Linked DNA regions of Homo sapiens: region 2 is linked to region 1. The links are contacts of gene promoters, found by promoter capture Hi-C in human tissues and cell types (Jung and others, 2019). All regions are on one chromosome and are shown on one strand. Each heading gives the region's core, a stretch centred on a gene start or on the middle of the fragment in contact. The rest is flanking DNA. Distances are from core to core; before and after follow the strand shown.

The links. The method cuts DNA at HindIII sites, captures the fragments that hold promoters and counts their contacts. A contact is called where the count stands out against the background at its distance.
Region 2: a contact is called between a fragment that was not itself captured here and the fragment with the promoter of GREM1 in region 1, in 6 of the 25 tissues and cell types used here (IMR-90 fibroblasts, aorta, lymphoblastoid cells and 3 more).

Annotation. Positions count from the first base shown.
Region 1 is chr15:32,714,491-32,720,621 of GRCh38, forward strand. GREM1 (gremlin 1, DAN family BMP antagonist) reads left to right here and starts at 3,514. Exons shown (of 2, transcript NM_013372.7): 1 at 3,514-3,671. GREM1-AS1 (GREM1 antisense RNA 1) reads right to left here and starts at 4,375. Exons shown (of 2, transcript NR_109767.1): 1 at 4,055-4,375; 2 at 3,611-3,874. RefSeq lists enhancers at 3,020-3,520, 3,658-4,236, 4,237-4,814. The HindIII fragment of the contact is 12,229 bases long and covers 1-6,131 here.
Region 2 is chr15:32,877,522-32,883,022 of GRCh38, forward strand. The region is part of intron 16 of FMN1 (formin 1); the gene reads right to left. Among named protein-coding and RNA genes, the nearest start is that of GREM1-AS1, 160 kb to the left of the region's middle. The HindIII fragment of the contact is 6,926 bases long and covers 265-5,501 here.

The DNA.
Region 1 (6,131 bases), core at 2,264-4,763:
TGCCATATGAATAAAATAATTTCTTATGCCTTCTCCTATATTTGTTGATGGACATTAAGATTGTTACAAACAATACCTTGATAAACATGCTTATACAAGTTTCTAGTCCTCATACACACGTTCAAATTTTTCTAAGGTGTTTACCTAGAAGTGTAATGTCTGGGTGGCATACTAAGTGCATGTTTAATATTAATGCAAATTGACAAATTACTTTCTGAAATGATGGTACTAATTTACCCTCTCACTAGCAATGCATTTGCTTGCTTGCTTCTCTCTACCTTTTCCATTGCTGGATATTGTCAGACTTTTAGATCTTTGGTAACTTTGTAGATAAGCAACAGTATCTTCTCATTTCAGTTTATATTTCTCTGATTTACTGGTGTAATGTTGCATCTTTTTATATTTACTGGCTGTCCAGGTTTCTTTTTTGTGAATTACCTGCCCATGTGCTTTGGCCATGTGCAATTTTTTTTTCCTATTGGGTTATTTGTGGGGATTTTTTTCTTACTAACTTATAAGAAAAATTCATTCTGAATATGATCCATTTAACTGGTATTTGACTCTTGTAAATATGTTTTTACTTAATCATTATCAAGTTTATAGGTTAATACTTTTTTTCTTTAGAAAGGGCATACAAGGTCAGTTCCAACTGTGTAAAGGGCTTTATTCTTTTTTAATCCTATGCAAGACAGCATACGTAGTCTCTGCAATTGGATGAACAGCTGTAAATAGCTTTTGCAGATCTAAGTAAAAACTCTTCTCTAAAGGTCTTCAAAGTTATTCTCCAAACCTGGGGAGTAGCCCTCTTTTAGCTTCTTGGGGTTACAGAGAGGCTAGCACATTCCAAACACAGGTGGGCAAAAAAAGAGGAAATGGACTTTACTTTTACGAACCAGTGGCTGAGCAGAATCTACTCTTCTCACAACCTCAAAGTAGTTTGAAAGTACTTTCATTAAATAAAATTAATCATTTAGTGATCGTGGTTTAGGCATCATGGTTTAGGCATGACTACATCGAGTCATTCTACTTCTTCTCCCCTTACTAAAAGCAGGTTTTAGTTATGTAACCATGTTTAGAGCGGTCTAGGGAGTTTTTATCCTTATGCCTTCCTCCTGATTGGACAATGGTTTGCAAGAACTTGTTAGGAGCTGTGGAAACACAAATATTGGGCAAAAAACTTGTGTTTCTATATAAATATTTACAAACATACTAGACTATAAATTCTTTGAGGTGAGGGCCTGTGTTTATCCTATCCACGATGGTTATACCCTCAGCATTTGGTTCAGCTGACAATCTTAGTGGGAATGTGCTCAACATTCTCAATCCACAACTATTTATTGAATCTGAGTGCTGTGTTAGACAATCTATATTCTATGTGCTTCATGTAATCAAAGTGACCTAGACAAAATCCCTGCCCTTATGAACCTTACATTCTAGTGGCAGGAAATACTATAATGCCAGGGAGAAGGGAGAGAGAAATGAGAATGAAGAAAAATGATGCAGTGATGCATAGCCCTCTCTATCTCTTTGGGATACAGAGAGGGGGCGTGTGTTGTGGGGAGGAGGTGGGGGCTCTATTATAAAAAATATGGCCTGAGAAACTGCATGAGGAAGAGTCATCATGATTTGATACATGGAGATAGAGAAAACCACAGTGTCAGGGCTCCAAAAAAAAAAAATCACTTCCATTTTGGGAGGTAATTTCAGCTTCTTTGTATTTGATTTGGGGCAGTATATAAGTCTTGGGAAAAAAAGAAGTGACTAAAGCTTTTATTTTAGATGAGGAGGACTTAATGAATTTGTAAAATATGCTCCCTTTTGTGGGGAGAAGTACAGCAGTTTGCACGTTGGGAGAACAGCTGGCTCCAATACAGCTTGGTGGTGGGCTTCGACTGAACTGGTCATCGCCTAAGTATTTTGTGTATTTCTGATTACCTATCTCTCCAGGAGCCCACGTGAGCAAGACAGGTCTTCAAGCTGGTTCAATGCTCCCATTCTGTAGGCAACTACAAACTGTGGCTCACTGCATGACTTAACAACAACTGATTGAGAATTGTAAAGTGCAGCCTCGAGTTCATGTGTAGAAACTGCCATCTGCACAAACAAAACATTGAGAGGACTAAGATTTTAAGGATACTAATGCAGACGTCCTTCTTGCTTCATTTATTTAAAAATATCTATTTCACGTTCCTAACAGCATCTAGTAGATGTTTCTTGCTTCTTCCCCCTAACGCCGGACTAAAGAGAAAAAAAAAATAGGCTGTTTTCTGGTCTGGTTTTGTTTTCCTAGTCAAGTACTTAAATTACGGGTGTTTCGTAAGTATCTTTTGATGGATTTCATTGTTTTGTTTATTTCGCGTTAGACAATACAGACACCTTCATATTTCCTTCTGTAGCAAATCTTTTTCAAAGTCTTCATTTGACGTGGCTGATGGAGCTGGTCTGCAGATCTTGCAGACGTGTTAATTTTTGCACGGACTTTAGCTTCAACACACAAAACTTACGGCCTCTTTGAGGAACCAATTTTTCAGGCTAAGAGAACAAATGAAAGTGTTCGCTCATCTTTCGAAAACTATTTATGTACTTGGTATCCGGAATGTGACATTGGTTTTACACGTCGGTAGGTTTTTGTCCTAAATTTCTGGGAAGTTACTTCCTCATCTAACGTTTTATTTTCCTGACTTATTCGTCTTTGATATGCTACAGAAAACCCCTCTCGCCCAGTGGCTGTTTTCTCTCTGTCTCTTAAGATAATTTAGGAACAGAAGCCTTGACTTTTGACGGTCATTTAGTTTTATTCTCCTCCCGTGACTCCCCTCTGTACACTCACAGGGGAGGCCGCCGGCATCTGGGCTGAAAGAACCCTTGGCGGGCGAGGAGAGCAGGGTGTCATGTTGGCGACAGGCTCCTGCTGGCGGCCAGCGAGCCCGCCAGGTTAACGGGGGCGCCGGGGTCAGCGCCCTCGAAGTTGGGGGCCTCGGGCGGGGCCGCCGGGGAGCCACGACGGCCGCTCGACCAGAGCATCCCGCAGTCCCGTTCCCTCCAGAGGGGAAGAATGGCCGAATCTGGCACGATCCCACGGAGATCTCGCTCTTCCCAGCGCAGTCTCCGCTACTGAGCGCGGGACCAACGCAGGCGATGCCGGGCGGCCGACAGGGAAAGCCCAGACCTGGGGCAGAGAAGGAATGAGGGGCCGCCAGCCGGGGGGATTTCCTCCCGCTCTTCCCTCTCCAACGGGAGCGGAAAATGTGATTTGCTGTGCATTCCAGGCGCGGTTCCCTGGGGTGACCTCTCCCAGCCGGCCCGGGCGGGGGGAGCAGACAAAGAGGCGAGGCGGGCGGAGAGGGGACCCCGCGGGGAAGCAGGAGGGGTGCGGGGGGCGGGGGCAGTACCGGGAAAGGGGGCGGATAGCGGGTCTGGCGGCGGCGGCGGCGCCTGGCCAATGGAGAGGCGCGGCCCCGGGCGCCGCGCTCTGCCGCCGGCATTTAAACGGGAGACGGCGCGATGCCTGGCACTCGGTGCGCCTTCCGCGGACCGGGCGACCCAGTGCACGGCCGCCGCGTCACTCTCGGTCCCGCTGACCCCGCGCCGAGCCCCGGCGGCTCTGGCCGCGGCCGCACTCAGCGCCACGCGTCGAAAGCGCAGGCCCCGAGGACCCGCCGCACTGACAGGTGAGCGCGGACGCACCCGGCAGGGATGTGAGTGGGCGGAGGGAAGAGGGCCGCAAACCAACCCAGGACCCGCTCAGTTCCACGCGCGGCAGCCCTCCGTGCGCGCAGGCTCGGGTGCGTTGTTCGCGGGGGTGAATTGTGAAGAACCATCGCGGGGTCCTTCCTGCTGAGGCCGCGGACACCGTGACCTCGCTGCTCTGGGTCTGCAGGGAAACGTAGGAAAAAAAGTTGTCAGGAGCGGGCAGGATGACCCCCACATCCCGTTTCCACCTCCCGGAGGCCCCCGAACACGCTCCTGGTGCTGGTGGCAGCAGCGCCTGGCAGACGCGCCCGCTTAGCGAGGGCGCGAAGTCCAGGCCGCCAGAGCGCAGGAGCATCCGGACCTGCTAGTCGGCCGCTGACTGCGCGGCGAGTTGCCTTGAGAGGGTCCCATGTGCTTGGGGCGCCGCGCTGGGTCTGGGGGCGTCTTGGGGCGCCCATTGGAGTCCGCGGGTTGGAGCATCCGGAGAATCCATGATGTGTGCATTTGCCGATCCCCGAGGTGAGATGGAGACTGGCAAGGGCAGAGCCGCTGTGTTCAGCCACAGCGGAAAACCGAACGGTGGGTAATCCGACAGCTGCGGTGCGGGGCGCGGCCCTGGCCGCGGGGTCCAGCGAACCCGCAGTGCTCACAAGGCAGACACCACACGCGCTCGCGGACCGGCCACGCACTCGCGGGCGCTCGCTTCTCTACTCCAGCCTCTTCCCCGCCCCGCGCACGCCCGGGCTGAATGGTAGACGTTCTGGCGCCGGGCAGCGGCCACCGGCTGGTTCCCACTTCCGCGCGCACCCCTTAAACTGTGTTCTAGAGGCCCCAGCCTCGCCTTGCAGCGCCTCACTAGCTCCTGAGGACTAGGGACTGGCGGCTGAGGCGGGTTGGCGGCTGCAACGAGCTGGGCGTCTTTCGTTCTCTCTCGCTGCCTGGCTGGCTCCGCTGGCCCCTCCACAGCTTGCGGAGCAAGGCCATAGCAGGGGAGTGGGAGGTATATTGGGGCTGTCACCTCCTTGCTGGCCGGAGTTATTTGTAGACTACAGACTCCGGAAGAACAGACGCGCCACCGCTCTCGCTTGGCATTGCCTTCGGATCGCAGCTCCTCCTTGGGGGTGCCCCAGCTTGGCGTTTATTTGCCTGCGCCAGGCTCTGGCGACGGTCACCGGGCCAGGCGGGGAGGGACGGACGGCAGGTGACCAGCCTCTGCTGTGAAGAAATTCCTGCGCGCCCGGAGCTGTCCCTAATGCATTCCCGGGTCGAATCCGTCTACTGCCTTCCCCTCCTCGACCGACTCCGAATCTCGGCTCTTATAGACAGAAATACAGCCTCAGCGTTAGGGGTTAAAATCCCCCTCTTAAACGGTCCGAGGGCAGAGAGGTGACCACCGATAGGTAATTGGATCTCCTGCTGGAAAGAGCAAATCTGAGCGGTGTGCGCGTCTGTTTATGTTCCCCTTCGAGATGGTGCCAGGACACGAACTGATTAAAACAATCTATTGTGTTAAGTGGGTCACTAGGGTTTTAAGCTGTCCCAGGGACCCCAGAGTAGTGGCTTCCTTCTGGCTGTACACACAAGTTAAATAAATAGCGTAGAAGAGGTTAAGATAACCCCATTCTAGGGTGAGGAGTCCTCTTTCATCCCTAGGGCTTCCCCCTCCCCTTTTCTCTTTTTTTGGAAGGAGGGGGAGCATGAGAGTCTTGAGGGGGGGATGTACTTTTCAAAGCAAGGAGGGAAAGATCTTAAGAAAACTATATATTCTCACTGCCCCCCAAGCCAAGTCTATAACAGTAGGTGATTTGATTACTATCTCTGGATAAATGGCACTGTCAAATTGTTAATATTAACTATTTCAGGGATTTTTAGCAGGGTAGTGGCAGTATGTGTGCGTGTGTGTGTGTGTGTCTGTGTGTGTGTGTTTAACCTCCAGGTCATTGTAGGAATTAGAGTCTTTTGTAAACTTTGTAATTTCACAGGTTTCCTATTTTCTTAAAAGTTCATTTTTAGTGAAATGTTTTGGTAACCCACGCTCTGTAGGAAATCCAGGTTGGCTAATGCGGTCTTTATGTGAGTAGTTACACAGGGAAGGATAAAAACCTTTTATGTCCTACATCTCTGAATGAGGGCTGCCTACCCTGTCTTTGAAACTAAGCCGAAGATGCCTTCAGTCTGAATGGTCAAGTATTAAAAGTGATAAAATGCAAAGAAATTTCATGCCGCAGACACCTCCCCCAAGAACTGCTTGTTGACAGCAAAGCTGTGGAACATGTTCCACAACAGAGAGTAAAGGACAGCCAGGAAATATAAACCTTTTATGTAAAGGAAAGGCAGGTGGGGGACAGTGGTTAGGGGAGGTGACTGCAGCCTCTAACCAAAAGGCAACCATCAGGCAAGTGCTACCAGCCCGTGTCTTCGATCTGCAAGGAATTTTC
Region 2 (5,501 bases), core at 2,478-4,977, 160 kb after region 1:
ACAAGGAGAATTATAGAATGCACTGAAATAGCATAGTAAGAATAATCATCTCAGAAATTCAGGAGTTGGAATATACCTTCAAAATCATCTAGCAAACTACTTGTCTAATGGTACCTCCTCTACCCACCCACATAATACAATCTTCCAGCAAGCAGTGGGTGAGGAACCCACTACTGCTCAAGGCCATCAGTTTTCTCTTCAGACAGCTTTAAAATCTGTCCCTCTAAAAGATTCTACTCACGGATGCTTATCTGACATCTTTGGCCATAAGGAAGTGATCTAATTTCTCACTAATAGCAGAGTCAGCGATTATCTGAAGTTGAGTCATTTCTTCCATTGTTCATTTGCTCATTCATTCACCCATTTACCAAATATTGACAACAAATACGTGGAAAGTGCTGACCAGCACAGTAAATATAAACATAAAAAAGGTCATATATCTGCCTTCATGAAGCTGGTGGAGGAAGAGAAAATTTACAAACAAATAAATAGAAAATAATATGAAATATGAATATGTGAAAGTAATATGAAAAACGAAGGCTGTAATAGACAGTGCCTATTCAAAGTGCCTCCTGAAGAGTGGGTGGGCAAGGAAGGCTCAGAGCATGGGCCTATCTGGCAGAAGGGCTTTCTAGGAGAGGGACCCACTACTGCAATGATCCTAGAGCAGGAACAAGTACATCGTGTTGGAACACAAAGAAGGCCCGTGTGGCTGGAGTTTAGTGGGCAGGAGGGGTGAGTGGTGTGAGAGAAGACTGGAAAGGCAGAAGTGGTTAAATCAGTTTGTACGGCATGAGTATGAGGTTGGATTTGATTCCAAGAGGAATGAAGATGAAATAACAGAGTGCTGTGACCTATGCGGCAGGTGGAGACAAAGGAAGACCAAGAGTGGAAGCAGAGAAACCTGCTTGATATGGGCCAGGTGAGAAGGTGGTAGCTTGGATTACAAAAGCAGTAGGTGTGGAGATGGAGAGCAATGAATTGATTCCAGACACTTTTTGAAGTTAAGAGTCAACAGGACTAGCTGTCAGACATGAGAGCACAAAAGGAATCAAGGAAAAGTATGACACATTTGGCATATGCTATGAAAAGGGATTTCCTTTGTGGGATCCCAGTAAATCCTCTTAAACAATCAGTGGAGCAGGTAGCCTTACACTCATTTTTATATGAGGATACTGAAATGTCAGGGATGAAATGATTTGCCAAGGGTTACAAAGCTTGTGAAGCAAGGATTTGAATTCAGGACTTCTGACCCAGACTTTTCTATGATTGCAGCTTTTATTTCAATATTTTATGTTTCTTGTCAAAGAAAAAAACTCAACAAAACACATTCTATTAACCACGTGTTTTTATAAAATAGAGGGTAGAAATAGAGGGTGCAAACTGAGAGGAGGAAACCAGGACAACATAACTCATCCTTCCCACCTAGAAATGTCACAATCACAGCTTCAAAGGAAAACACAAACTTCTTCCATTAATTAAACGGATGAATCAAGTTTCAGTTTCCTCTCTCCTTTCTGTACAACTTGTCTTTGAAGGCATTTCATTTGGGAAATGTGTGACCTTTAGTCACCATGCTCAATTAATTGAATGCTTTGCATCAAAAGTCACCATGCCGATCCACATTTTACACCCACTGCTTTTCTGAAATACTTATCCCAGTTCCTTAGGTCTGTTTTGTTGAAATCATTTTACAAAAATAAATCATATCAAAGTTTTTTTTATTATTTCTAAAACTTTGCTTGCAAAACTAAATATTTTTAACACCATGGCAACATGGTCAGGACTCTGGCTAATGTATCCAGTCTCGTACCAGAGCTCAGACTTAGTAAACTACTGCTGTGGACAAATGGGCTGTGAAGGAGGAAAGAGCTAATAAATTAGACATGGTCAATAATCATTCAAGTCATGTCTTCTGGAGCTTCCCAAAAGGTGATAAATTAGCCAGACCTGTCCTAATGATCAATACCCTGCTCTCCCTTCTAGAACACACCAGCATCCATTGAGTAAAGTGCAGACTGCAAGGCCTCTCAGGAATTTAAGTACTACCTCACACCTCCTGAGGTACTTCCTCAGGCATCGCCTCATCTGACCCTTTCAATATCCCTTTGTGTTGGGCAGAATCCAGAAGTATGATCGGCTCCATTTTTTTTTTCAGTTGAGAGTCACAGAGGCTAAGTGATGTGGCAAAGTGCATGGTTTATCATGTGATAAGAGGCAGAATTAACTTTAAACTTACATCTCCTAAATCTCAGTTCAGTACTATTTTCAACACACCAGCCTCTGTCATTGAAACTTAACAAATTCACAAATGCTTTGTTTCATTGTGGGATTTTTTGTTTTTATGTATTTGTCAAAGTTATACGTGCACGCAGTTTAAAGAATCAGTACATTCTATGCACTTTAAGAACAGCAGTCCCCCATCTCCACCCCACCATTTCCTCAATTCTTCCTCCTCAGAGGCTACCTCTTTTACCAATTTTATGTGATTATTTGGTGCTTAGTAGTATGTCTCTAACAAGCTTCTATTGTTTTTTTTTTATTTTTCTCTTTATCAACTATAAATGATGTAGTTCTTTCCTTCACTCCCGCCTCTTCACTTCCATCACCCCAATATAGCACACGGTACCATGACTTGGTTAGACTAGCGTTTGGTGTTGACATTATTATGACTTTGCAAAAACAACTCGCAGTCCCAGCTGATATATGGAAACTCTGATTATTCCACATTTCCCGCACATTTCCTCTTTCTCTCACACTTGCTCTCAGAATTTTTTTTTCTGATTTAGTTTGTTTTCTATGAGCTTAACGTTAAATGAACCTCACACTTGTTACTAGTTGTATAAAATCTCTTGTCCAAACGTTCAGATATATTAGATGTATTAATTGTGTATTCCTTAAGAACCTTCTCCATGATGCTTTTGACTTAATCAAATCTGAAATGTTTTCTTTCAATGTCTGGCTGCCATCCTGGGCTTTTTCTCTGTGCTGGAGGCTCCATTCACCTTCCTTCTCCACTGAATTTTTATTTCCTGTGACCTATGTCTTCCTCTTTAATGGGACAGCACTTTCTTTAGTAGCATCCTGAAGATAACTGTATGGGAGATAAGTATTTTGAGAAATTGCATGTCTCAAAATGTTTTTAATCTGTCCTCATATTTGACTAATAGTTTGGTGGATATAAGGTTCTGGACTGGGAATAATTTTTCTTCAGAATCCTGATGCATTTGTAGCTTTTAGTAATGCTACTGAAAAGTCTGAAGTCATTCTGTTTCCTGACTGTGTGTGTAATCCATCCCCACATCCCACCTACTCCTAGAAGGGGGTGAGCTTTTCTTTTTGTCCTAAGTATTCTGAAATGTTCTAGTAATAGTATAAATCTGTTTTACTTCCCCCATATTAGTCAAATATCACATGGTAAGTGGCAGAATTAACTTTAAACTTTTGTCTCCTAAATCCTAGTTCAGTGCTATTGTCAACACCCCAGCCTATGCCATTGAAACTTAACTGCCATTCACAAAGCTTCATTTCATTGTGGGGTTTTTTGTTTTTGCATATTTTTTGTATATTTTGTATATTAATCAAATACGGGGGAGTAAAACAGATTTATACTATTATTAAAACATTAAAACTTTTTAGGCCTTTTAAAATTAGGAACTCATCCAACATTTTTAGACATTTTAAATGACTGTATTAATTTATGTACAAATATGTATGACTTTCTGCATGTTTGTATAAATATGCACAAACTTGTGGTACATGTAAGTCTTATAGTAAAAGTTGGATTGCTTCTCACCTCCTATCACTCCTGGATTAGAATTCAGCTTTCTTGTTTGATTAATTCATTTATCATGTATACATCTGTTTTTGAGTTTCCAAAATTTTGTGGTTCTCTCTATGCTTTAAAATTGATGCTTTTAAAGAATTCTACTATCGTTCTAGAAATTTTCAAAAGGAACTGAAATTCCATGAGTGTTCAGTCCTTGATGAGTGTTCAATCAATGACGTTTCCACCAAAGTCCTCCAAAAGGTTTCCAAAGTGACTTTTCCCCCTTACTAGAACCATATTGTTGTTTATGGGCCATGTTTTAATTAGTAATTAAAGAAAATTTTCACCCTCATGACAAGATCTAATTTTTGTCTTTTTTCCTCTTACAAGAAGCATTTAAACTCTCATGGAGGGAAAGCCACTTGAAGACACCAGGTGGCAGAGGTCATTCGTTTTGCAGGGTCAGGGCTGGTCTTGAGCACAGGAAGCATAGCTCACCCTCTTATGTGACTTGACAAGTTCTGGAAAATTCCCTTACCTTCTCATCTACATCAGGAGCCCAATACATCTAACTTCCACACATGGAAGAGATAACAAAACCTTGCAGGTTGCCCAGGGATGGCCCTTTAGTCCTCTGCTATTAGTTCAGTTAGCCACATCAGACTAGTATGCTTTCTTTTGGGTCACGAAGGAATAAAACAGAGGCTAGGTCAATGTCAGAGAGACAGAGAGGGAGTCAGAGAAACTGAAAAATATTGACAGGCAGGAGGTGGAAGGAGAGAGACTACAATAGGCAGACTGGTTGAGTGGTTGTATGTAGAGACAAGAGAAAGCCTGAATTCAATCCAATTTTTATCTGTAGTCCCTTTAGAAGATGAGCCACAGAACGAAGTGGGGCTTATTCTTCAAACTTTATCATTCTGGATCACATTTTTTGTGCTTTTAGGGTGAGCCTGCAAACTGTAAAGGAACAAAGTACGGCACAGATAAACCTGTTTCAAATTTCAGCTTTGCCAGTAGTAGCAAAGTAACTTCCACTTCCTTACTGTAACAACACAGGTAATAACACTTACTTTGAAGGAGTTTTAAGAAATAGAAATGATGTAAGCAAATTTGCTGGTATTAAGTGCTCATTAAATGGTAAGTGTTGTCATTAGTGATGGTGGAAATGGACACACGCCACACCCTTAACCACATTTATAGACCCTTTGTCCACTGTCTACACTGGTAGGGAGGAGAATTTTATTGCTGCCATTGTTTAGAATTGCTAGTGCATAATGATAATAAAAAACGAACTGACTTCTAGTTGACTTTATTATTGCTTTTAGATTCTCTACAGACATGCCAGATAAAAAACAGTACACCAAGTTAAATTAGAATTTCAGATAAGAAAAAATTTTTTAGTGTAAGTGTGTACCATGCAATATTTGAGATACACTTACATTTAAAAAAAAACCCTGAAAGAAAAGTATTGGGCCTCCTGAATTTTATTTAATAAATTTGACAACCCTAAGAGTAAGGAAGAACCATTTTGCTTCCTAAGATAATATCAACAGGAAACACTTTCTTAAATTCTCTTTGGGGCCCAATAGCACTGACTGACTCAGGCAAGGGCCACACTTTCATCGGAGTGGACAGATACATTGATTCCTGACAGAACAAGAGCCAGCATGGCTGTAAGAAGCCAGAATCAAAGAGGATGGTGACGAGGCAAACTTGCATTAAAAGCTGC